7 separate regions of the Homo sapiens genome follow, and all the other regions are linked to region 1. The links are contacts of gene promoters, found by promoter capture Hi-C in blood cells and fetal thymus (Javierre and others, 2016). All regions are on one chromosome and are shown on one strand. Each heading gives the region's core, a stretch centred on a gene start or on the middle of the fragment in contact. The rest is flanking DNA. Distances are from core to core; before and after follow the strand shown.

Region 1 (3,053 bases), core at 305-2,804:
AAAATGAGCTATACAGTTTCACATTTGAACTTATTAAGTTTTCAATGGGCCAGTGAAAAACGTCCCCCCTATTTTTTTTTTAACTGCTTCCCCTATTTAAATGCTCAGCATAAGAACCCTGGTCCTATACAATTTATCCAAAGCTTGGGCAGCCCGAGAGCCCTTTTATCCCTCACTAGTGAATCAGTTCTATTGTAGGAGAGAGACATTCTTTCCTCCCCTTTTCGCTTAAAAAACATAACAAACCTGAATAGACTCCAGGCTAGAGTAGTGGAGAGAGTGATTTTTATTAGATCTAACATAGTTATTGGCAAATGCCTAAAGACAATATTTAAAAAGAGAGCTAGAGAAAGAAAAGGCTTTCACTTTATGCCTTAAAGGACAGATTGGTTACAATTTAACATCTAAGAGGAAAAATTTATAGAATTAAATGGCCTAACATTCCTCTTTCTTCAACATACATATGAGAAATCTAAGCTAAGAGGACATCTGGAATGGAACGTTATTCAGCAATCAGAAAGCAAAAATTCAAACCATTGATGTTTTGATGGAGACAAACACAACTAGATTCACAAAGAGGAAAGCTGCAACCTATTGAAGTTAAAAAAAATTCCATATGCATTTTACCTTTTGGGCAGTTCTATTTCAGAAGCCCTTTGTAATATGAAACCCACTGTAGATAAGATACAACATGAAGATAGTCTGTTTTGCAGCAGCAGGAAATCAAATTGGTTCCAGAAACGAAGTTATATGACAAATGGTTTAATAGTATTGCTAGAATTGGAAATCTTGATTGAATTATTTTTAAATCATTAAAAAAAAGATTTTGAAATAACTTTGCCATGCTGTATAAATTGGTGATGGTGGTAGGGGGTCCACACAGGGAGTGTTGCTGAGGTTAGGAGGCATCTCATTTTATTGGCCTTTTAACTAAAGCATTATAATCTGTTATCAAAATTTAAAAGTTCAGTGGTGATTTACTGTTAATTCTGGTTTGCAACAAATATTTTCAGACAAACACGATACTTGAATTAACATAGCTAATATGTGTTGTGGAGTATTAAACAGGTTAACAAATATTGATATATTCTAGTATCATTTCCAAATTATTTTTAGGTTTAATCTCAACACCAGTCAGCTTTGCTTTACTTAAAAAGCATCAGAAAAAGTTCATTAAGTCTTAGGCAGGTCTTGGATTGTAGAAGAGACTTCTAAGTAGTTAGCAAGATGTATCACTGACAGAATAACCCAGTGCCTAATGCCTGTAGGTGAAATGAAATCGTTCTTCTGGCTGAAGTCAGGAACAAGTTAAAATATCACTTAGAACACAGCATACGACTGCAGAGATTTAGGAGAAATCTTACTTAAATAGGATGTGACTTGACGTTTAGGACTATTTTCTAAAAAGTCAAAAAACTTTTCCCCCTTCAGTACTTACAGTCTTTGAAGACTAGAGCCGGATCTCTGTGAGGCAAGACTTGGGCAATGATGTGTCTCAGAGATTCCAAGGTTCTGTCCATCTTGGGTCTGCCTGTGTGAGCCTCCTGTACAGAGTGTCCTCATGCCTGAATTCTTGCAGTCCTGGGCTGAATTTCTGCAGCTCATTGATGCACTGGATTACCAAGGAATCCCTTTTAACATCTGCCAATCAGACATTTCCCAGAATCTAAAGACCCCTCAGGGGGCCCTCTTCCCAGGCTCACTTATCTTTGTTGTATGCTGAGCTAATTAGCTCGAAAGGCTGGCTGACAGGCGGGTTCCCATTGCTTTCTTCTGTTAAACACACCCACCTACAGGCTAGCTGGGGAAGCTCGCTAAATTATGAAAACAGCTTTCCTCTCCAACCAGATTTTGTCTGAATGCTGTGCAGCTTTCTGACTTGAGTATTTCTTCTGGCCCTCCATCTTCAATTGTGTTGCCCCCAGGAATATGGAATCAGGAAGGTTATTTCTCCAGGAAATTTCCTGAATGACAAGACAGCTTCCAGCTCAGGACTGCCAGCTATATGTTAACAGTATAATCCCTATAAATCTAAATTTTCAGTGTAATTCTTCTTTGGTAAAGGAGTGCTATAAAGATTATGGGGCTGGGTGCAGTTTATCATGCCTGTAATTCCAGCACTTTGGGAGGCTGAGGCGGGCAGATCGCTTGAGCCCAAGAGTTCCAGACCAGCCTGGGCAACATGGCGAAACCCTAACTCTACAAAAAATACAAAAATTAGCTGGGTGTGGTGGTGCATGCCTGTGATCCCAGCTACTTGGAGGGCTAAGGCAGGAGGATGGTTTGAGCCTGGAAAGTCGAGGCTGCAGTGAGCCCAGATTGTGCCACTGCACTCCAGCCTTGGTGACAAAGTAAGACCCTGTCTCAATTTTTTAAAAAAATCTTTCAATAACTACCTTAAGAAACATATATGTATTTTCTCGTCCTGTTTCTTTGTTTTATTTTTCTTTTTAATAGGGTCTCATACTGTCCTCCAGGCTGGAGTGCAGTGGCGTGATCATAACTCACCGCAGCCTTGACTCAAGTGAGGGGCTTGAGCCCTGGACTCAAGCAATCTTCCCATCTCAGCACCCCAAGTAGTTGGGAGGCACACGCCACCACGCCTGGCTAATTTTTAAATTTTCTGTAGAGATGGGGTCTCACTGTGTTGCCCAGGCTGGTCTCAAACTCCTGGGCTCAAGCAATCATCCTGTCTGGGCCCCCAAAGTGCTGCGATTACAGGCGTGAGCCACTGCACCCTGCCCTGAAATTTTTAATAATTATTAAGTGAAAGGAAGTGAATTACATCAGAATTAATTAAAGTCAACCTTGGGAATGATTCACTTTGAAGGGTAAATAGGGAAACAAATGTTCCCAGGCAAGCTGTAAGACAGTCTGTCAGGTTTTACTTGCCCCTGCCCAATAGAAGTGACTAAAATTTGGGAGGGTTGTGGGGGGTAACAAGCCTTGGCTTCCAGAAGAGTGGCTCCTGAATTCAAATGCAAGGCTTAATTTAGTCCCTAGCTGTATCCTTTTTTTTTTTTTTTTTTGAGACAGAGTCTCACTTTGTCATG
Region 2 (3,496 bases), core at 26-2,525, 360 kb before region 1:
TTGGCCATTCTTCTTTGAAACCAGAAAGCATTTTCAATCTGATCCCTTTTGCTTTAACCAAGATAAATAGCAAAAGAAACAGCACTTTAATCCTACACATTTTCACATTCCTCCTTGAATTAACTAGTAGTTTCCAAAATAAATTACCTGTTTTTGTTTTTAGCAAAAATCGATGGACCATGTCGGATTTGCTGGTGATGAATGTCAATGGAACATGCCACAGGTACCTAAAATAAAGGAGAGGTGGATTGTTCATTTGTTGATTCAATTCAACAAGCAGTTATTAAATCACCTATCATGTGCCAGGCACTGGTTAGTTTAGAACAAGATAGTACCAAAACTGCTACAGCCAAGCTCTCAAAACATCCCCAGTCTGTTTTCCAGCTTTGTAGGGAGTGTCAGCTCGGGCACTATTTCCTTTTCTTGGACTCCTTGAGTAGAGCTAAGAATTTGGACTCACGTGAACCCTGAAAGCCTTTTTACAGTGATTGGCTGATTGCATCTCAGAGGCCTAACTTCAGGACTCATGTGCCTCCTGAATAGTATATTAGGAAGGACACAATATCACCTCCTTGGGATTCCTGTCAATGATATGTAAGCTGAACCTGATCATGGAGAAACAGCAGAAAATCCAAACTGAAAGGCATTCTATAAAATAACTGGCCAGTACTCTTCAAAAAATGTCAATATCGAGAAGCCCAAAAAAGACTGAAGAGTTGTTTCAGAAAAAAATGGAGACCAAAATGATGCAACAACTAAATAAAATAAGTGATCCTGTATTAAATCCTAAGTCAGAATTTATTTTCTATTTTGCTATAAGGATATTTTTAGGACAATTGGAAAAAGTTGAATGGGATTTATAGATAATAGTATTATATAAAGTTTATTTCCCAATTTTGATAATTGTACTGTGGCTATGGTTATATAACTGAATGTTCTTGTTTTTTGTTTGTTTGTTTTGAGATGGAGTTTCGCTCTTGTTGTCCAGGCTGGAGTGCAGTGGTGCGATCTCGGCTCACTGCAACCTCCACCTCCTGGGTACAAGCGATTCTCCTGCCTCACCCTCCTGAGTAGCTGGGACTACAGGCGCCCGCCACCATGCCCGGCTAATTTTTGTATTTTTAGTAGAGATGGTGTTTCACCATGTTGGCCAGGCTGGTCTCGAACTCCTAACCTCAGGTGATCCTCCTGCCTCGGCTTCCCAAAGTCCTGGTATTAAAGGCATGAGCCACTGTGACCGGCCATAAATGTTGTTTTGTAGAAAATACTATGCTGAAACATTTAGGTGTGAAGGGGAATCATGTCACCAATTTACTGTCAAACAGTTCAGAAAAACATATGCCAAGTATATACATACAGACATATGTATATAGGTATGTATGTAGATAGATGGATATCGATTAATCAAGATTTAAAACCTCCTTAATCCTTTTGGGAAGATGGGGGAGGGAGGTGTATATATTATATATATATATGTGTGTGTATATATATACACATATATATGTATATATACACACACACATATATCCACACAAACATATACATATATATATAGAGAGAGAGAGAGAGCAAGAGAGAGAGGGAGGTGAAGAAAGTAAAGGAGTAAAGAGTTAACATGTATCTAGGTAAAGGATATATAGGAATTTGTTGTGTTATTCTTGTAACTTCTCTATAAGTCTGAAATTGTTTCAAGATAAAAGAATTTTTTAACGGTATCCATCCAGGGTCAATCAAGTTGCAGCATCTTGTTTCTAATAATATTCTTCTATAGCATTAAGCTGACAAACAGGTTCCAAATCTAACTCAGAAGAAGACAACTGAGTCTCTCATCATTCTCGGAAATCACCTAAATTCTTTTGTCCTCAGCTCCAACCAAATGCTAGGCACTATTGTAATCTAGTAGCAGTTGCTTAGGTTGGAGTTGATTTCAAGCCAGTAACCAGAAATTACCATCATATCAAATTACAAAATATGAGAATGTTAAAGTAATTACATCGTCACCTTTACTGAGAATAACCAAGGTTTAAAGCCTCCTTAATCCTACTGGGAAGATGGGGGCAGGGAGTATAAGTCAACTTCATAGGATACACAGATGCAGCTGAAATATTTTAGCAATAGTGGTAAGGGCATTATTTCAAAAGCAAGGTTCCATCCTACAAGGCAGATGTTACCTAGACAACAAAACAAATTTTACTCTAGGAGCATTACCCAGTGTCCGGGGCGCCGTCAGAGCCCTTCATGTAGTGCTCTTGCTTCATGTGTACATTCCTCCCCCTCACTGTGATGGTTATTAGGGGAAAACCCTTCTGCAGTGTCCAAGTGTTCATCATGGTTTTCACATCCACCCCTTCCTGATGCCAATGCTGGTGTGTACACAAAAAGGCAGACACATCACCCATTTAACCCAACTCTAAGAAAAGAGAGAACACCAGCTTATGCTCAAACAGCCGCTACCAGTTGCCAACCTCCCCTCTTAGGAGCACTTTCTGATCCCTTTCTCAGTGTGATGTCCCCAGCCATCACACCTCCATTAGAGCACCAGCTGTTTGCTTGTCATTTTCCTCCACTACACATACGTGTCTGGAGGACAGGTAGCATACCTAGTTCTGCCGGGCACACTTTGGGGCTGGCAATAACACTGGGCACAAAGCAGGCATGTGAATGAATGAAGGAAGAGAAGGGAGAGAAAGTGCCAGGTTTTCAATACCTACCTAACTATGCTGGTTTTGGACAAGCAAGGTGGAAACAATGTTCAGTCAAGAGCCTGTGTTTCTAAAGTGAGAACACAGAGATGACCCACACTCAACAAATAGTGGGAACTCAAAAGGAGCTGTTTTTTGATACTAAAAAAGCTTTTAAGAAATGATTTAAGAAGTAGTAAAGGCTGGGCGCGGTGGCTCATGCCTGTAATCCTAGCACTTTCGGAGTCTGAGTTGGGTGGATCACCTGAGGTCAGGAGTTCAAGACCAGCCTGGCGAACATGGTGAAACCTCATCTCTACTAAGAATACAAAAATTAACCGGGTGTAGTGGCGTGTGCCTGTAATCCCGGCTACCTGGGAGGCTGAGGCAAGAGAATCGCTGGAACCGGGGAGGCAGAGGCTACAGTGAGCCGAGATCACGCCACTGCACTCCAGCCTGGGCAACAGAGTGAGACTCTGTCTCAAAAAAAAAAGAATTAGTAAAAAGATAAAATGTGCCACAGGACAAATCTAGAAACTACTGAATAAAGCAGTCTCTAGGAACAAAAAAGCCAAGAAAGTAAACATATAAAAAGAAAAAAGAAACAAAAAATTCTGTTGTATCTCCAGACTCACCCTCAGCTTCCTCTGAAAACATCCCACAAGTCCAGATGAACAGAGACTCAGGCTGTTTTGTGACTTGATGTTATGAATACTTTATAGCTTAGCAGTTAAAAACATGAGTTAGATCTAAATTCAGATCTCTGCTCTGCAATTTACCAATCAGATGTCTTTGTATTTCATGTTCTCAACTTT
Region 3 (3,470 bases), core at 687-3,186, 320 kb before region 1:
TTGGAGGGACGGGCAACCAGCATAAATCAAGTCTCCCCATGGGCAAAGCCAGGGAACACAGAAAGCCATTCCTGCTAGGCAGTCCCAGGGCACAGAGCAGGATAGAGAAGGGTGAGGAGTGGACCTATAGGGGCCAATGGAAGACCTCCAGCCTCAGCTTGTTGAACCACAGCAGGTGTTTCCTATGGGTCTAACTAACCAAGCATCAGTTAGCAACTGTGATCATCTAATTCACCTGCTCATCAAAGCAATAAATAATGCCAACCTCATTTCATGTTTTGTATCCATGCAATTATAAATAAGAAAAAGAAAAATAACACAATCAAAAAGATCAATGACATTTTAAAAACTAATTTCTATGTTGTGTCAGGGTTCAATGGCAGAGCACAGAATCACTAAGCTATTTAATCAGAAAAGGATTTATTGCAGGCTATTACATGACTTACATAATCATTGGGAAGGCTTAAAAAATACACTAGACTGAGCTTCCAGAAACAAATCGCAAAACCACAATGTAGAACTTGGCCACCAGTGAAACTGCTTCTCTTGCCATGATCCAGGAGCCATCTGCTAAATTGGGCAGCCTCTGCCACAATTGCTGGCTCCAGAACCATACCATGTGTGCCACAATCTTTCCCCACAAAATGAATAGCTCAAGAGCTGCCTGTCTCCCTACCGAACTCAATTCCAAATTCAAGTCTCCCACCAGTGCTACTGTTTGGCAGAGCCTAAAGCACATCTAGAATCTAGGAGCAAGGAGTCTGGAAAATAAAGTGTTTGCTTTCCCGACTCTGCAGTGGTGTGAGAAATTCTGAAAAGCGTTTGGAAGAGATGCTGAGTGAGCCAGTCCCAATATCTGCAATAAATATTAAACTGTACTGAGGTTGAACAAATAAAAAAGAAATAAAGCAATCATGAGGAAGCCTCAAGTAATATTGATTGTAATTAAGAACAAAAAATAATAATTGAGGTACCAATCGTAGATTTAGATTATGAAAGACACGGGGCACTTGGGAGTGAGATGAATATTTAACATTGTGACAGAAGCATATTGCCAAAAATCAAGTTATCATTTGGTATATTTGGAATGTCTCCAGGGGCTTTAAAACCCTTTTGCCTGCTCAACACACCTCCCTTTCCTCCTGTAAATGAATAATCACACTGCTCAGGCTCAGTCTGAGATGAACACAACACCTCCACTCTCTGGCCACCGCGATGAGGCCAAGGGCAAAGCCAGTCCAAGCAGACTCCCAGCCCAGGATTGTTCTGGCTGAAGCTAACAGGGAAGCCTCTTTTTTTTTTTTTTTCCTTTATGTTCCCAGCACTATATAAATATGGCCCTAGAGTTAATGGCTAAGTTCCCGCTATGGGTGATGGCTGAGAGAATAACCCCAAAGAAGAAAGAAAAGGAGGCTAAGCTTGAGAGGCTTTTTTTGTTGTGCAGGTTTTCTGAGTTCATCCTTAATTAAGGCCTGGGACTACCTCTTTCCTCCAGCTTTCTTCAACGCCCGAGGCATTCAGAATCCATGCCATAAATCCTCCCTCTTGGATAAAGATAGTTTTATTGCGGTGAGAATCAGTAGCGTTTAATTTTAAGAGTTGTAATAAACAAACCACAGTCTCAATCTTATAACCTGCTATTCCACTATTCACTTAAAGGAAGGTAGTGTCTTTTGTGTTCCATGAGAAAAGTGACATTTCTTTGCTTTCCCATACATTGAGGTCAACCTAAATTCCAATGAAGCCAAACCTGAACTGCATTTATTTATTTATTTATTTATTTATTTATTTATTTATTTATTTATTTTTGAGACGGCGTCTCGCTCTGTCACCAAGGCTGGAGTGCAATGGCATGATCTCAGCTCACTGCAACCTCCGCCTTCCAGGTTCAAGCGATTCTCCTGCCTCAGCCTCCCGAGTAGCTGGGACTACAGGCACCCACCACCACGCCCGGTTAATTTTTATATTTTTAATAGAGACGGGGTTTCAACACGTTGGCCAGGATGGTCTCAATCTCTTGACCTCGTGATCTGCCCGCCTCGGCCTCCCAATGTGCTGGGATTCCAGGCGTGAGCCACCACACCCGGCTTGAACTGCATTTTCTAACCAACTGACTTTATTTCAGTGATTTTGTAACATCACTCAATTTCAGGTAAGTACTCTCTAAGAACAGCTTCATTTGTCAGAAGCCTCATGGACAGCTGCTACCACCATATCATCATGTTTTCATCCTACAGACAATCATCAGCGGTGTAGACTGGTGAGTTCCAGCTATTTCACTAACAATGGGGAAGAACCAAAGAAAAATTGCTGTGAGAGGAGGAAGGCAGGAGAGCCTGTGGCTCCAGAGGGGTGTGTGTGTTTGTGTATGTGTGTTTGTGTGTGTGTGAGAGAGAGAGAGAAAATAAAATGTTTTCTACCAACAAAACTCAGGTGTGTTTCCTTTACTTGCCTTGAAGCTTCTTCAAAACTTGTTATACCGTAAGTTTGAAAAACCAAACACTTTTCCTAGGATTGTTTTTTTACGTACTAAGGACCAGATCAGATCAGCAATTAGAAGTATGACATACAAAATAATCACCCTCAAGGAAGGTTTAAATTAGGGATGAATTTCCAGTATTGACATGGATCTTTCCAAGCACCCTGCATATTCAGCACAGTATTCTAGTATTTTGTGAGTGAAGTCATTATTTCTTAGGACATCATCAAAAGATTGAGCGTGTAATAGACTTCAAGCACCTATGGATTTAATATTTACAATTTTGACTATTTGGGTGTGACCTGAAGGTCTAGCACTTGGGTAGTTTATAATTTTGCCGAGACGTAGGTTAGAGTTACATGAACAGATGCAAGAGAAGGAGTCACTTCACCCATATGTGGGCCAATGACTCAGAATCCACATCCCAACCCAATTCTGTTGTTCTCCATTTGCCATCACAGGCATATTCACTTTCTCAAGTGATAAAATCTCAACGGAAACAGCAAAAAAAGCTTTAAAATTTCATGAACATTCTTGAAAGGATCTCTCAAAGTTCTAAAAATCATTTTACTGCATTTTATGGGAGAAAATATATACTCAAGTATATATTTAATCTGGCAACTAACTAATCAGCATTTGCTTATTTGCCATTTAGCAAACAACATAGCTTAAAAAAAGACAAATGAAAGAAAATCTCATTTTCAGAATTAGTAGCAAGAATATGCAGGGTGCTTGGAACGTCAATACTGGAAATTCATCCCTAATTTAAACCTTCCTTGAGGGTGATTATTTTGTATGTCATACTTCTAATTGCTGATCTGATCTGGTCCTTAATATGTGAAAAAACAATATACTTCAGATTTGAATGTTGATAAACAGTCTTGTAAAAGTTTGCTGAAATCTAAACGTTACTAGTTTTCCTTAAACTGTTGAGGATCATATAACATCTACAACCATGTAATTTTTCAGTGAGTCCTATAAAATTGCTACT
Region 4 (3,579 bases), core at 166-2,665, 450 kb before region 1:
CATTTTTCTATCCCATAAAAGGTTATTATTTTTTATAATTGTATACATAATAAAACTCATAGAAAATTTTCAGCAGCCACTAAGTCTTCTCATGTGTACCAACCAGACCCACTGGGGTTGCCCTGCAGAGGTCAGTCTGTTCCATTGCTACCTGGGCAAGGACTTTGGGCCTCTCCCTTTAGAGCCAGGATTTTCAACCTGTGGGTCACAGTCCTCAGGATATGTTGTAACTCATTTAACCCTCAAAATCACCTTCCGAGGTATGAGCAGAGTTATTCACCCTGCTCAGAAAACTGGTGTTGAGAAATGTTCAGAAACTTGCCTAAGATCTCATAGCTGGCATTTGGTGGAACAGGACTCTTGCTATATAAATCATAAGATAGAACCATTATCCTAGAGAATGTGGTGCCTTTCTTCACAGAGTCATGAAGTCTCAGGGTAAAACATGTGGCTTCACTCAGGGAGCCTTTTCTAAGATTTTAAGTGACAGTGACACAGCAACTCTTTGCCTGGCTCTTGGAACTTCATTGTTATTTTGAAAATTTTAAAGACTCGAGTTCTGATTGACTCAGTAAAAAATTTTTTCTCTGAACTACAATAGATATACAAAAAAGTATGCAACTAATTCTTTTCATGCCTTCTTGCAACAGATGGTGCAATATCATATAAAAATGAGCTTGTTTTGAGAGTTTCTACTTACTGTGAGTAGATGAATTCTTTCCTCAGGGTGGATCCAGCCCTATCACTAGTTAGTGAGTATGCAGATCTAGTGAGCTAAGAGATCTGTTCAGGGCAGGGTAGAATTTCTAAGGACTGATGCTGATGTTAAGGAGTATAAGTGTGAAGAGATACCAACAAAACTAAGCACAAGGTGACATGAAGCCAGAGGACGTTGAAAACCTTGCACCTGGAGGCAAGGGAGGACTCAGGGGGTCAGGTAGTAACCTGAGAAGACTAGGAAGCAAACCAGATCCTGGAAGAAACTGATGATCCCAAACTCATGTGACTATAGGGCTATTCTGATCCCACATCACTTCAGAATAAATATTTGATCCTGCATTTTGTTTCATCTCATACCATACATGCCTGTACCCAGCATGCTTTGGCTGCACTGGCTTCTTTCTGCTCCTCCTGCTTACCAAGCCCATTCTTACCTCAGGGCCCTTGCACGTGCTGCCCTGTCTACCTAGAATGCCTCCTTTCCCTCATCCCATATATACACGATTGGTTTCCACACAGCAGTCAGGTGTTAGTCAAATGTCACTTCCTCATCCATCCTGTCTGAAGCAACCCTGAGCCAATCACTCTCTGTTACCTCATCCCATCTCACAGTCTGTTCAGGACTCACCATTCTCTGAAGTCATCTTGTTTTTTTGTTGACTTACTTAAAGGCTGAGTCTTTCTACTGGAATGTAAGTGCCACGAGGGCAGGAGCTTTTTCTGTTTAATTGGTCATTATATCCCCATTGCCTAGAATAGGACCAGGCTCATAGTTTTCCCAATGAATGAATGAACAAATGAATATGTGAAGTCAGACACAAATGAAGAAAGGGGGCCAAAACAACATGTAATTAAACTCTGATTACCAATCTGAAAGTAAGGAGTCTGCTCTGTATATGGGTGCATTTCAAGGCTTTTGCATTGTATTTTCAGTGCCAGATGTCAACAAAGGGCTTAATAAATACTTGTTAGATAAAAATTTAATGAAAGATGATTTTACATATTCCAGTCTCACTTCAGCTGAACTACATTGGTCCTTTGTGGACTAAGTAATCCAGGCAGCTCTGAGAGCAAGCCAGTCTTTAGGGGAACAGATCATACCCACAAGAAAGTTGAGGGAGCCTCCGTTAAGTTAAAAAACATTTCGTTTATTAGTAAGTCATTTTCAGCATATAAATTAAGTTTAAACAGTCATTATTTTTAACTTAATAGTTTCATCACAGCCAAAATACAAATTTTTAAATTCTCATTGGCAGATCCTAATTGGCATATTGTAAGTAGTGGAATCCATTTATAGACTTTAAGTATGTGGGCTTTGATGTAGCGAATGGAATCTGTAATTAGCCCAGGATTGGAACATGGCCTTCCTCAATTGTAGCTAAGATCAAAAGCTAATAGCTGGAGTTTGGGACAGCTGTGTCACATTGAAAACAGACCTAACCTCCTTCAGTTTCCTCGCTGGAAAATGAGAGGTTGAGATAGGTAATGAAGTTGAAATGGATAATGCTACTGCTGTATTCTTGTCTTTATGTCTTACGTCCAGTCTTTTACACAGAATCCATTTGTACATTAAGGTTGTCAGAAGCTATTTGTTATTATTTGTGATAATTTAAAAAAGACTAGCAATCTGGATAAAATGTGGGTTATCCCCTCCTTTTACCATCTCACATATCACACCTGCATCACTAGCTTCTTAGCAGCCTCTTTTGTTTTTATCACATTTATCTAGGTTTTTTTCTTTCCTTGGTTGATGGTAGTAAGTGTATGCTTGGGAGAGACTATTTATTCTACAGATGATGCCTGGGAGCCTGAACTCCTGCAAATGCCTGTGAGGCCCCCTAGAGTGGTTGGCGAGTGGACACATAGAGATTGTGCTTTGAGGACAGCAAACTAAGTTTTGATTTTGGGGCATGCTAAGGCAAAATTTACCCTGAAGGGAAAGAAGACTTCAGTTCAAACTTCCATGGCATGCATTTTCAATAAATTAGAAAATATAAATTTGGCTAAATATTTCTTCTAAATATTAAAGAATGAAACCAAATTATTCTCAATTATACATATAAAATATTTGTTGCATAGACATAGAACACTTTAATGTGTTATATGCTAGCTAATTTATGCATTATCTTGCCTTGTGTATTCAATATTTACAGTACATTATTCACACTTTATTGACCTTGGAGCATATCACCATTTTACATTATAAAGCTTTATACTTGGCCAGGCACGGTGGCTCACGCCTGTAATCCCAGCACTTTGGGAGGCTGAGGCAGGCAGATCACGAGGTCAGGAGATCGAGACCATTCTGGCTAACACGCTGAAACCCTACTAAATATACAAAAAATTAGCTGGGCGTGGTGGCATGTGCCTGTAATCCCAGGTACTCAGGAGGCTGAGGCAGGAGAATTGCTTGAACCCAGGAGGCGGAGGTTGCAGTGAGCCGAGATCGCACCACTGCACTCCAGCCTGGGTGACAGAGCGAGACTCCATCTCAAAAAAACAAACAAACAAACAAACAAAAAAACTTTATGTGCTTGCTTCTTTGAAATATAGATATTCATAAGAAAGAGAAAGAGATACAGGATATGAAGGTCTTGTTGAGGAAGCAACTGTGTATTTTACTTTTCCTTTTTCCCCCATTTATTTTCTTTTTCTCAATTAAAATAGTTACATAAGAAAACACAAAAAAGCCCAAGAAGGATTTTTTAAAAATTACTCTTCACACCATCAGAAAATAACCTCATATGACCTTAAAGGATCATACTAAACATACTATTTTATAATTTAACTTTTCTTCGTATAAAATATGAATAATATGTTTTTATTTAATGAAGTGTTTTTCTAGGACATGATTTTTAA
Region 5 (3,073 bases), core at 527-3,026, 310 kb before region 1:
AGAGTTTGTCAAGCTTTCCAGTCTCAGTTTTCTAATCTTCAGTATAGAATAATAACCCCGACCATAAAGAGCATTGTGCACAATGGGCCTATTATTAATGTTCATTTCTTCTGTGAGTTCAACACAGTGATCAGATCATATCCAATTTGAGGAACTTAAAGTTAACTGCTAAGTTGTGATATGGTAAGTGGAGTCCTGAGTTTGATGTATGTGAACTTATACTGAGACAAAACTTTTACCTGTGGTCTAGTTCACAGTAAAATGAACTACTGGAAGAATAAAAAAAGATTTGAGAACTCAATCAAAATAAAATCAATCCAAATAAATGGTAGTGCAATTTGCTGAGTTTCTTCAATGAAGAAACATACACAATAAACCTGTGAATGTTATCACTGGAAGTGTTTGATGCTGTGGGAAGGAATAACATTTCTATTTCACTGTTATTACTAAATCATAATTGCATGGTGTTTAACCTCTACTGTATAAATCATCTAATGAGGATTCATTTCTATGTAATTTTTTGTTACACAAAGAAACACTGCATAATACTTACCCAGTAATAGGCAGTTTTTTAGACCCATTGAATCAAAATCTGATTTGGGGACTGTAAATTTACATTTTAAAGAAACACCCACATGATTCTTAGGCACACAACCGACTGAGAACCACCAGGATGAGGGCCTTTAGTATTTGTTGTGTGCTGTCCCTTTCCACATTTCAAAGAATACTAAGGGGCTGTTAGGCGTGTACTAGTGGCTGAGAAGTTTGCTTTCACAGTAAAGAAGGTAACACCATGACACTGTCTGTGGCTTAAGATAAAATTATGATATTTCTTGAGAAAGACAAAACTCTGCTGTTGACTGTCCTAGAAGGCTAAAAGGATAATTGGAGTTGTCGAGCTGGTTATGACCAAAGCTGCTTTAGAACTTCTTTGGAGTTTGAGTGATCCTTGCCACATGGTGAGATCTTCAGGGACCTGTCAAGTTCCTGACAAGAACTTGATTGAGGACAAGACACTGCTCCTTTAAGCCACATGAATTGCTACAAGGATCTTAAAATACACAAATGAAGACCAGGTAGAAGCTCAGATGCTGGTCTCAAATTCCAACCCTGTTGTCAGGATTTTCTGTCATATATCTTTTTAAAAACAACAAAGTAGAACATCCTTACATGTAGGGAAGTTTATTTGTACGAAATGATGTTAAAAAAAATTCCAGGTGCTTTTTAAAACAATTATTGCTGATTGTTTTGTTGTATATTAATAATACCTCTATGTGTTTGATTTTAAGTCTAAGTTTACAGTGTGTTTTCCTTCTGTATAACCATGTTTTACTGTACTATCATAACAAATTTACAGTTGTACAAACATGAATAAATCCTTCAAAAAGCCAGCAGTACGAAGGCTCACAAGTCGGAAAGGCCCATCCTACTTAGTAGGTACTACAAACTTTATCAACTGGAGCAGGGTCTTCAAAAGGAGGGGTTGGACCTCTGGGAAACCACAGAGGCTTTCCAAGGGACACCCAGGCAGACAGGTGGTTCTAACAGGGCATCAATTTCCTGAATTTCAACTGCAGGCATACTCTATCCAAACATGATCTGAGAACACTCTTGTGGTTTTAAGGTTATATGGGACCTCCGTTTCACCTTTGCTTTCACTTGACAAAAGAAGGAACAACTTCTCTCCATGGTTAATACTACTATGATACAATTTCTGAGATGAGAAACCTGCATGAGTCAGAGAGAAATGTGAAATAATATTTCTGGTATTGAAAAAATGAATGCCTTCAATGACCGGAAAACAAATCCTTTTACATTTCAGGGATTTTCCACCTCTTTGGTTTTTTTTTTTTTTTTTTTTCTGTTTTTTGTTTGTTTGTTTTCAAGACAGAGTCTCACTCTGTCACCCAGACTGGAGTGCAGTGGTGCAATCTGGGCTCACTGCAACCTCTACGTCCTGGATTCAAGCAGTTCTTCTGCCTCAGCCTCCCAAGTAGCTGGGACTACAGGCCTGAGCCACCACACCTAGCTAATTTTTGTATTTTTAGTAGAGACAGGGTTTCACCATGTTGGCCAGGCTGGTCTCGAACTCCTGACCTCAAGTGATCCCCCCACTTCAGCCTCCCAAAGTGCTGGGATTACAGGCGTGAGCCACCACGCCTGGTCCACATCTTTGGTTTTAACAAAATTAAAGGGAGACCTAACTAGTAGATCATTAAAAATACTTTTTGATGATAGGTCACTATGTGATTTTTGGCATATTAGTGGCAAGGAGTTCAAATAATTGAGTGACATTGCTAAAACAAAACTCATTTCATCCCCAACCACCAACTAATATAAATAAGATTCCTTAGCACTTACATAAAAATAATTTAAAATAGGAATAAAACTGATGCTGAATCCCAACTTATTCTAGCAATAAAGAGCCATATGTGGATGCATCCATTGAAAAGCAGGCCTCATTCTTCTCCTTAAAAGATACGTCATGTTAAATAATGTATCAAAATGTGTAATGTACTTACCTTGTTTTGATTAATTGGGTATCAATAAAAATTATAATGATAATGCAAATCAGAAGATTTTTTAAATAGTTAAGCCTTGAGGTCACTGAAAATTAAATTTTTATTTATATTTCAATTTTCATACATATTTCTGTTTCAAAAAATTATGATGTCATAAGGACTTTCAATCAAAATATATTAGGCTAAAATTTGGGAGAGAAAATGAATTGGAGAGGAAGGAGGAACTTCTAACTATTTAAAAAAGAACATGTTCATCTTTTTAGTGTAGATATGTAGGCATCAATTCCTCATGATAGTCACATTCCACTGGACACACTTTAAAATGTAGTATGAGTTTTAAATGTCAATATTTATGATATGCCAGGAATTATATCATTTACAACTATTAAATGTATAAAACTTTTAGATATTTGAAATTTAGATACAGAGATAACATTTTTAAGTGTTGGAAGGGTACATAGTTTTTCAAAGTTATTGTACAGAACACAACAGCAAACAAACCTACATTAGGTCAGTAGTTATATGTTAATGAAGCAGGAAATTTCCCCGAC
Region 6 (3,535 bases), core at 607-3,106, 370 kb before region 1:
AGCCAGTCCTGATCGAGACAAGCTCTATTTTGTTTTTTAAATACATTTTATTGTGTATATTTGAGGTTTACAACATGGTAGTTTGGGATGCATAGAAATAATAAAATGGTTACTGTAGGGAAGCAGATTTACATATCTATCATTCTCACACAACTACTTTTTGTGACAAAAGCAGCTAAAATCTACTTAGTTAACAAAATCCCTAATACAATTTTATTAACCTTAGTCCTCATGTTATACATTAACTCTCTACACTTGTTCATTCTGCATATCTGCTATTTTGTATCCTTTGACCTATATCTCTGTTTCCTCCTCCTGTTCCCTACCATGGTCGCCATGTTTTATTCTCTGTGTTTTTGAGCTTTTTCTTTTATATATATTCTACATATAAGTGAAATCACTTTTCTTTCTGTGTCTGGCTTATATCATCTAGTATAAGGTCTTCCAGGTCCATCCATGTTGTGACAAATAGTAGGATATCGTTTTTTAAGGCTGAATAATATTCCATTATGTATATATACATGACATTTTCTTTATCCATTCATCAACAACTAGGTTGTTCCATATCTTGGCTATTGTGAGTAATGTTGCAGTGAATATGGGAGTGCAGATATCTTTATAAGGTGATAATTTCATCTCCTTTGGGTATATACCCAGAAGAGGGATTACTGGGTCATACAGTAGTTCTACTTTTAATTTCTTTAGGAACCTATATACTGTTTTCCATCATAGCCCATACCAATCTACATCCCCACTGACAGTGTACTAGGGTTCCCTTTTCTCCACACCCTTGCCGACATTTATTATCTATTGACAAGCTCTGTTTTGATTAGCAAAATAAGGTCTGGGTGAGTCAGGCACCACGGGAATTAGAGCATCAATGTCACCCACATTTCCCTCCTTATTTCTATCCTTTTTCCCTCCTGCTTTAAACAATTCTCTGACACCGTTGTTCAAAAAAAATCATGAAAAAACACCCAAAGTCTTCCATTATTTAATTAAATTGGAGATCTCAGAATGGTCTGGATTAATTTAACTGCAGCCTAGTTAATTGCTAGATGGATTGGTGATAGCCATAGCCTCATTACATTTCCTTTGCTTTAGGATAAGTGCAAGAAGGCTGCTTCCAGCTCCAAAGCACCTAAGAATGGAGGTAAAGCGAAGGATTCAGCAAAGGTAAATGGAGCAGTAAATATACTACAAATTAGTTTAGCAGTTACACAGAGTAGGGTTTATCATTTCAGTCATTTAGTTTCCTACTGGAATCTATTTAGAATAAAATTTCTTAAAGTACTATCTATCCCATAGCATCGCTTGGTAAAGTAATTGAATTTGTATAAATACATATATTTTTAAGTAACTGGTGCTTTAAAATCCTAAATGAATGTTCTTGACACAACCCAATTTGCCTGTGTTTTGCCTGTCTTTCTTGCCCTAATTAAAATACCACCATAGTATGTGGTTTATATAGATTTTAGAACATGGAAGTTGGAAACTTCCTATTATTAAAATTACTCAAGCTGTGATGAGAAATGAAAATTGGATTAGACAACTTCTAGGTCCCTTCCAATTCCAAGAACATATGATTTAAATGATTATTACTATGATCCCCTGGCTATAAGGAGGAGTTAAAGGTGTAGCTTTAAAGACAATAGTCCAGTTACACCAAAGCTTTTAAAACAATATATTAAAATCTTCCTGTAGTAGATTCCCTTAAGGGATATAGGAAACAGCATTGATAATTGGCAGTTATGCCATTATATCTCAGTTTAAATACTTATTTGCCTATTATTTAATTTCAGTTATACGAAGTACTTAATCAGCCCTTTAACAAATAATAGAAAGCATAATAACCCTTTATGATGAGTGGATTTACTGGACAGCCATGACCCTATGTACAGGAAAGGAAGGATCACCACAGAATGAAACATTGCCATTTAAGAACACCTATGCATATTTTATAACCTACCCTAGCCTTAAAAAAATAAAGCTGAGAGTGATACATTTAGGATCAGGATCACTTAAGGTTATTTTTAGCTTATAAGCTTGAGGAGGAAGAACTCACAATATTGTGGCCAGATGAAGAAGAGAAACTGAAAGGACCATCTTATTTTTCCCCACTGACTGCCATCTTTTGTCCCCTAATTCTGAGAAGGCCATCTCCTCATACTTAATACAGAAAAGAAAGCTCACGGATGGTTTTGCTTTCCCTTTTAGACAACAGAGGAAACTTCCAAGCCAAAAGATGACTAAAGAAATACAAGTTAAGGTATCTGGTAAGTTGGGTGTTTATTTGTAAATGAAGACAACTGTATCTTCTGCCAATTTATGTGTTATAGATGAGAGAAGTGAAGTCCACCTCTTGAGTAATTCATGCTCACTTTACAGTATTGGCATGAAATGCATACTGCAAGATCTACAGAGTAATTGGTCATTCTCTGAAAGCACTAAATGGGATGAGTTTGCTATTGAAATGTTTAAAAACCTTAATCTTATAATTAAAAGCTTTTAAAAATATTAGGCCAGGCACTTAGAATGACCATCTGAGGCTAGTTGAATCTTTGAAATCCAAATGCTCATTACTGCAGGTTATTGTGGCAAAGCAAAATTAGCATGTTACAACTTAGCGAAATGTCCTGAAGACATTGGCATTCCCCAGAATACCAATACATGGTGGGGTGGGGAGAAGTACCCTTTAGAGTCTGGTGGAAATTACAGGGTTTTGGGAACAAGGGCAAAGGAAAAGATTGGCCATTTTTATTTGTCATTATTTTGGAAAGTAAAGTACTGTGTTTGATTCTAATTTATAATTGCTGAAGAAACTGGACAGATTGAAGGGATTTCTGAGATCTTCAGAACTGGGCCCTTATCTTAATCTTCAGAAAGGAGAGGGCTTAATGTAAGCCTTAAAAGCATACAAGCACTTACTGACCAAAGCCTAAAAGAAATCAAAGTATAGGTTAAATCGGGTTCAGCTCTCTCACCATGATCCATGTTTATTTCCTAGGAAAAAAGGAGCTATATTAGGTAGAACTGCTCTAACATTTTTCCCAAAATTAAAAAAAATTCTATTAATCCACTTTCATGTTTACTTATAGGAAATTCCTTCTGTCTGTTATACAATGCTTTTGCTAAGTGGTATATTTACTATGTCTGTAACAAGAAAATTACATATTAAATGATTCACTGCATTTTTTATTTGAAATTTTTAAGGTATCTGCATGTAAAATCTTCAGCTGGTGGATGGTGACTTTTGAAGAACAAAAGGCTTTGGCAACAGAAAACAATTGTTCTGGGTGATTTCTAGAATGGTTTTTGTTGAGTCTCTGAACATCCTAAATATTGGTTTGTTATTCTTTTCCAGAAAGAAAATGAATTTGACTGGTTCACCTGTGTACTGAGTATTGATAAACTTTGAATTTTTTTAATTGCCTTCAATTGGGAGAGAAAGCTTTATATTTGTAAGAAATATATTTGATAAAGTTTCTTAAAGCAACACCAAAAAAACAAAAGAAAAGCTAAGTGAATTTTTGCA
Region 7 (3,403 bases), core at 381-2,880, 420 kb before region 1:
GAGCCCCCTTCCTCTGCCCCTGCTTCTATAGAAGCCCTTACCTTCCCATCCTGGCTCACTTGCCAGGACCTGCTGGGGAGCTCAGAACCCTCCCTACTCCCATCCAGTCTCACAAGACAGTTAAGTGAGCCTCCCACCTCAGCCTTCCAAGTAGCTGGGACTACAGGCGCGTGCCACCACACTCAGCTAATTTTTAAATTTTTTGTAGAGACAAGGTCTCACTACATTGCCCAGGCTGGTCTCCAACTTCTGGACTCAAGCTGTCCTCCCATCTCGGCCTCCCGAGGTGCTGGGATTTCAGGTGTGAGCCATTGCACCCATCTGTACATTGCTTTTTAAATAATAATTGTTGAATAGGCGGGTGAGTGGAGAGTAATTTCTATTAAGGAACTTTTCTCTGCTTCTTGTTACTCTGACTTGTGCCTTAATTCAAGTTTATAAATGATTACTAATATTTGGGATATTAAGATAGGTACATGGGTCATTTGGGAGGGGTAGTATTTTGATAGCAGCACTTTATACTCTGATTTACAGTATTAATTCTTTAGAGGTATTTTGGTGTATATGAGCACTGATGGTTGTGCTTTAAAATTGGCAGCCCGTTGATGTTAGCAGGACCAGCCAAGTGGCAGGCACTGCAGTAGAGGGACCTGGGTTAGAAGTCAGATGGCCAAGCTCCCAGGCCTGGCGTACACAGCTCGGAGGGTCCTCGTGCAGAGAGTGCTCCTTTCCAGCCTGAGCGATCCCTCCTTATCCTCCAATCACCGCATGACAGGTCACATTATCAGAACTGCCTGTCTCAACTATCCCCTGAACTGCTATGGTTCCCTCATCTACATTCTCATGGAACCCTGTGAGTTTCCTTTGTAGCAAATAATTGTTGGGAGTGATTATTTCTACTAATGCCATCTTTGACTAGGCTATAGCTTTCATACGGGCAGGGACATGCCTACTGGTTTTACCTCTGTGTCCCCAGCACCTGACACAGTACCTGGCACAGAGCATATTCTGGATAAACACCTGGGGGAGCCAATGAACTCTGGTAAAATCTTGGACATGAGATTCCATTTTTCTCACCTGTTTAAAGCCTGTATATTAAAGCTTGTATTAAACTTTATCACTAAGGTGCTTTCTCTTTGAAGATCTATGGATTAACCCTTCACAATTTTTTATTATAAATGTTATCCACATCAATGATACGAAATTCAAACAATGCAAAAGAGTATACAATGAAAGTGTATTCATTCATTCACCAGAGATTACAAATATTGAAAGTTGCTTGTCTTTACAGAGAGAATAAAAATTGAACAAGCTGTAGCCAGAATCGAATGGATTAATAATGGGGTGGGCATATTCCCTACTTCCAGCTCCCATGAAGCAGCTTTCATATTTCAGTTTTAAAATGGTTAGTGCCTTAGTGAGGGAAGAAAACTTTCATGCAGTAATCTGTGCTGCCAACAGGGGCCAAGGCCCTCAGCTAAATTCCCACTACACCCTGCGCCATTGCTGATTTTCAGCTGTTCTGTATAGAGATTTTACTGTTCATGGGGGCCCTCTGAAAGTTTTCTCCTTTCTGGAATTTGAGGATCACTTCAAGGTATTGTTTAATAAAGTAACAAGGCAGGCTGGACAATTCAAGGCAATGTGATTTTATGGATGATTTAATACATTTGGATGTGTGGAAAATATGTCTACCTAAAGATTTTCAGCTTCAGAAGCACTTTCACATAGAGTGTTTGGTTTCTGTGTTGGTGTTGCATGGTTGAGGGGAATCATTAAAGGAATGGAATGCAGCTAAGTGGAATTTCTTGAGTTTGAATGGAAATCTGTATAATCAATTCCAATTATGGAAGGATAGAATTACATAAATACAGGGACATTAAGCACCATAATGTTTTAAAATATTTTCAAGGAAAAATATGGATATTCATATATTTATCCATTAATTTGATAGAGGGAAAATCTGTCTTGGTACATCTTACAGTTTTCAGTACCAAAAAGAATATGAGAGAGGCCCTTCCATGCCCTGCTACAGTGACTGGGGCTTCTTGTATGTGTGCGTGTGTGTGTATTTTGGTGGAAGGGAGTGTCCAGTTGGTGCCTAAGGGTTCTCAGGAATAGTTATGTTTATATGATTATTTTTGAAAAATAAGTATACTAAAGCTTTGGATTTCTGTCTGTAAATTATGATAGTTTAACTACAAGCATCAATGTGTTCTGCATTAACTGAGGTTTGTGGGGAAGGTGATTTTGTTCATGGGCCATAGACTATAGTGGGTTTCATACAATCACCTTGAGTGGTAGTGTATTGGGGGTGGGGGAAGGTAAGGGAGAAGCAGGAATGGGCTCATGCTGCCCTGTGACTCAGCCTCTGAAGTGGCTCTGGACCAGGCATTAGGGACACAGTGAGGTCCATCTTACAGGCTTCCTTCCCTGGGTGTTGTTGGCAGGGTAGCAGCTGTTTACTGACAGTCAGTTACTTAAGAAGGCAGCTCATGCCAGATGGAATCCCTGGGTTCTAAAACCTAATGGACTTTAAGTGTTAAGGAGGTTTAAATGAGTCTGGGTAGGAGTTTGCAAAGATTATAATTATCTGTTTAATATTAACCAGTGTAATACAAGTTAAGTACTAGAATAGTACTCCAAACCATACAAGTATCCACACACACATCCCAGTACTTAGATGACTGGATCACAGGGGCTGATTGCACCACTGCAAGCATCTCAAGGAAGGGTGTTCCTTGAATAGTTACTATTTATCACCTCTTGCCTTCTAAGGAAGAGCCTAGATGAGACATAATGCAGTAGAATTCCCTCTGTAACCTTGTCTCCACCTTCTCTTTCTTACATGACACTGAACGGACAGTTCACATCCACCCAAGTCTATTTACGGGAGTTTTGTCCTTCTATCTTATGTATTAGGAATAACACACTGGCAATTTAATGAGCATCTGCAATTTGCCAGACATTTTGCCACACTATCTCAAATACGACCCTGCAAATAGATGTTACTGTACTTTGTATGTAAATGGACCTGGAAGACAAAGCTCAAAGTCACAGAGCTTGTAACTGACAGAGCTGGGGCTTGAACAAAATTTTGTTGAGTTGCAAAATCCATGTTTTTTCTGAAAATAACATAAACAGTAATTATAATAATATTTACTGAGCATTCATTATGTGCCAGGGAGTAATTCTAATAATAAACTTACAAGGTAGTTGTTAACTACTAAAGAAAAATTGAGGTTGGGAAACTGGAGATTATAAAATTTAAGTATCTTACCCGAGATTGTTTAGTAAATAGCAGACCCAAATTTTGAACCTATTTGATCTGGTTACAAAGGCTTTCACTACTGGACACCACCTCCTACTAGATTTTTGTGCTCTAAACTGGGTAAAACCAAGG

Evidence for each region. Contacts are between HindIII fragments. The CHiCAGO score rates a contact against its expected background, and 5 or more counts as called.
Region 2: a fragment that was not itself captured here is called in contact with the fragment with the promoter of LIX1 in region 1 in 13 of 17 cell types (erythroblasts, total B cells, fetal thymus and 10 more); the score reaches 10.3 in erythroblasts.
Region 3: a contact is called between a fragment that was not itself captured here and the fragment with the promoter of LIX1 in region 1, in 4 of 17 cell types (total B cells, erythroblasts, fetal thymus and 1 more). The highest score is 6.7, in total B cells.
Region 4: a contact is called between a fragment that was not itself captured here and the fragment with the promoter of LIX1 in region 1, in 3 of 17 cell types (megakaryocytes, fetal thymus and neutrophils). The highest score is 5.5, in megakaryocytes.
Region 5: a contact is called between a fragment that was not itself captured here and the fragment with the promoter of LIX1 in region 1, in 6 of 17 cell types (naive B cells, total B cells, total CD8 T cells and 3 more). The highest score is 6.9, in naive B cells.
Region 6: a contact is called between a fragment that was not itself captured here and the fragment with the promoter of LIX1 in region 1, in 11 of 17 cell types (total B cells, naive B cells, megakaryocytes and 8 more). The highest score is 11.1, in total B cells.
Region 7: a fragment that was not itself captured here is called in contact with the fragment with the promoter of LIX1 in region 1 in 12 of 17 cell types (naive B cells, fetal thymus, neutrophils and 9 more); the score reaches 10.0 in naive B cells.

Annotation. Positions count from the first base shown.
Region 1 is chr5:97,141,057-97,144,109 of GRCh38, forward strand. It overlaps LIX1 (limb and CNS expressed 1), which reads right to left and starts at 1,555. Exons shown (of 6, transcript NM_153234.5): 1 at 1,439-1,555. The coding sequence starts at 1,520. RefSeq lists an enhancer at 1,502-1,571. The HindIII fragment of the contact is 8,667 bases long and covers 142-3,053 here.
Region 2 is chr5:96,786,323-96,789,818 of GRCh38, forward strand. ERAP1 (endoplasmic reticulum aminopeptidase 1) reads right to left here. Exons shown (of 19, transcript NM_001040458.3): 11 at 2,209-2,363; 12 at 148-227. It overlaps LOC124901031 (a long non-coding RNA gene), which reads left to right. Exons shown (of 2, transcript XR_007058877.1): 2 at 1-784. Among named protein-coding and RNA genes, the nearest start is that of ERAP1, 20 kb to the right of the region's middle. The HindIII fragment of the contact is 3,150 bases long and covers 1-2,850 here.
Region 3 is chr5:96,817,135-96,820,604 of GRCh38, forward strand. It overlaps a transcript of ERAP1 not described here. Among named protein-coding and RNA genes, the nearest start is that of ERAP1, 11 kb to the left of the region's middle. The HindIII fragment of the contact is 1,041 bases long and covers 1,417-2,457 here.
Region 4 is chr5:96,691,418-96,694,996 of GRCh38, forward strand. All of the region lies in intron 2 of CAST (calpastatin), which reads left to right. Among named protein-coding and RNA genes, the nearest start is that of CAST, 31 kb to the left of the region's middle. The HindIII fragment of the contact is 3,022 bases long and covers 1-2,926 here.
Region 5 is chr5:96,834,336-96,837,408 of GRCh38, forward strand. It overlaps a transcript of ERAP1 not described here. Among named protein-coding and RNA genes, the nearest start is that of ERAP1, 28 kb to the left of the region's middle. RefSeq lists a silencer at 1,644-1,693 and an enhancer at 2,691-3,073. The HindIII fragment of the contact is 3,530 bases long and covers 12-3,073 here.
Region 6 is chr5:96,769,427-96,772,961 of GRCh38, forward strand. CAST (calpastatin) reads left to right here. Exons shown (of 32, transcript NM_001750.7): 30 at 1,105-1,176; 31 at 2,218-2,276; 32 at 3,214-3,535. The coding sequence ends at 2,253. It also overlaps a transcript of ERAP1 not described here. Among named protein-coding and RNA genes, the nearest start is that of ERAP1, 37 kb to the right of the region's middle. The HindIII fragment of the contact is 374 bases long and covers 1,670-2,043 here.
Region 7 is chr5:96,719,138-96,722,540 of GRCh38, forward strand. All of the region lies in intron 3 of CAST (calpastatin), which reads left to right. Among named protein-coding and RNA genes, the nearest start is that of CAST, 58 kb to the left of the region's middle. The HindIII fragment of the contact is 1,062 bases long and covers 1,100-2,161 here.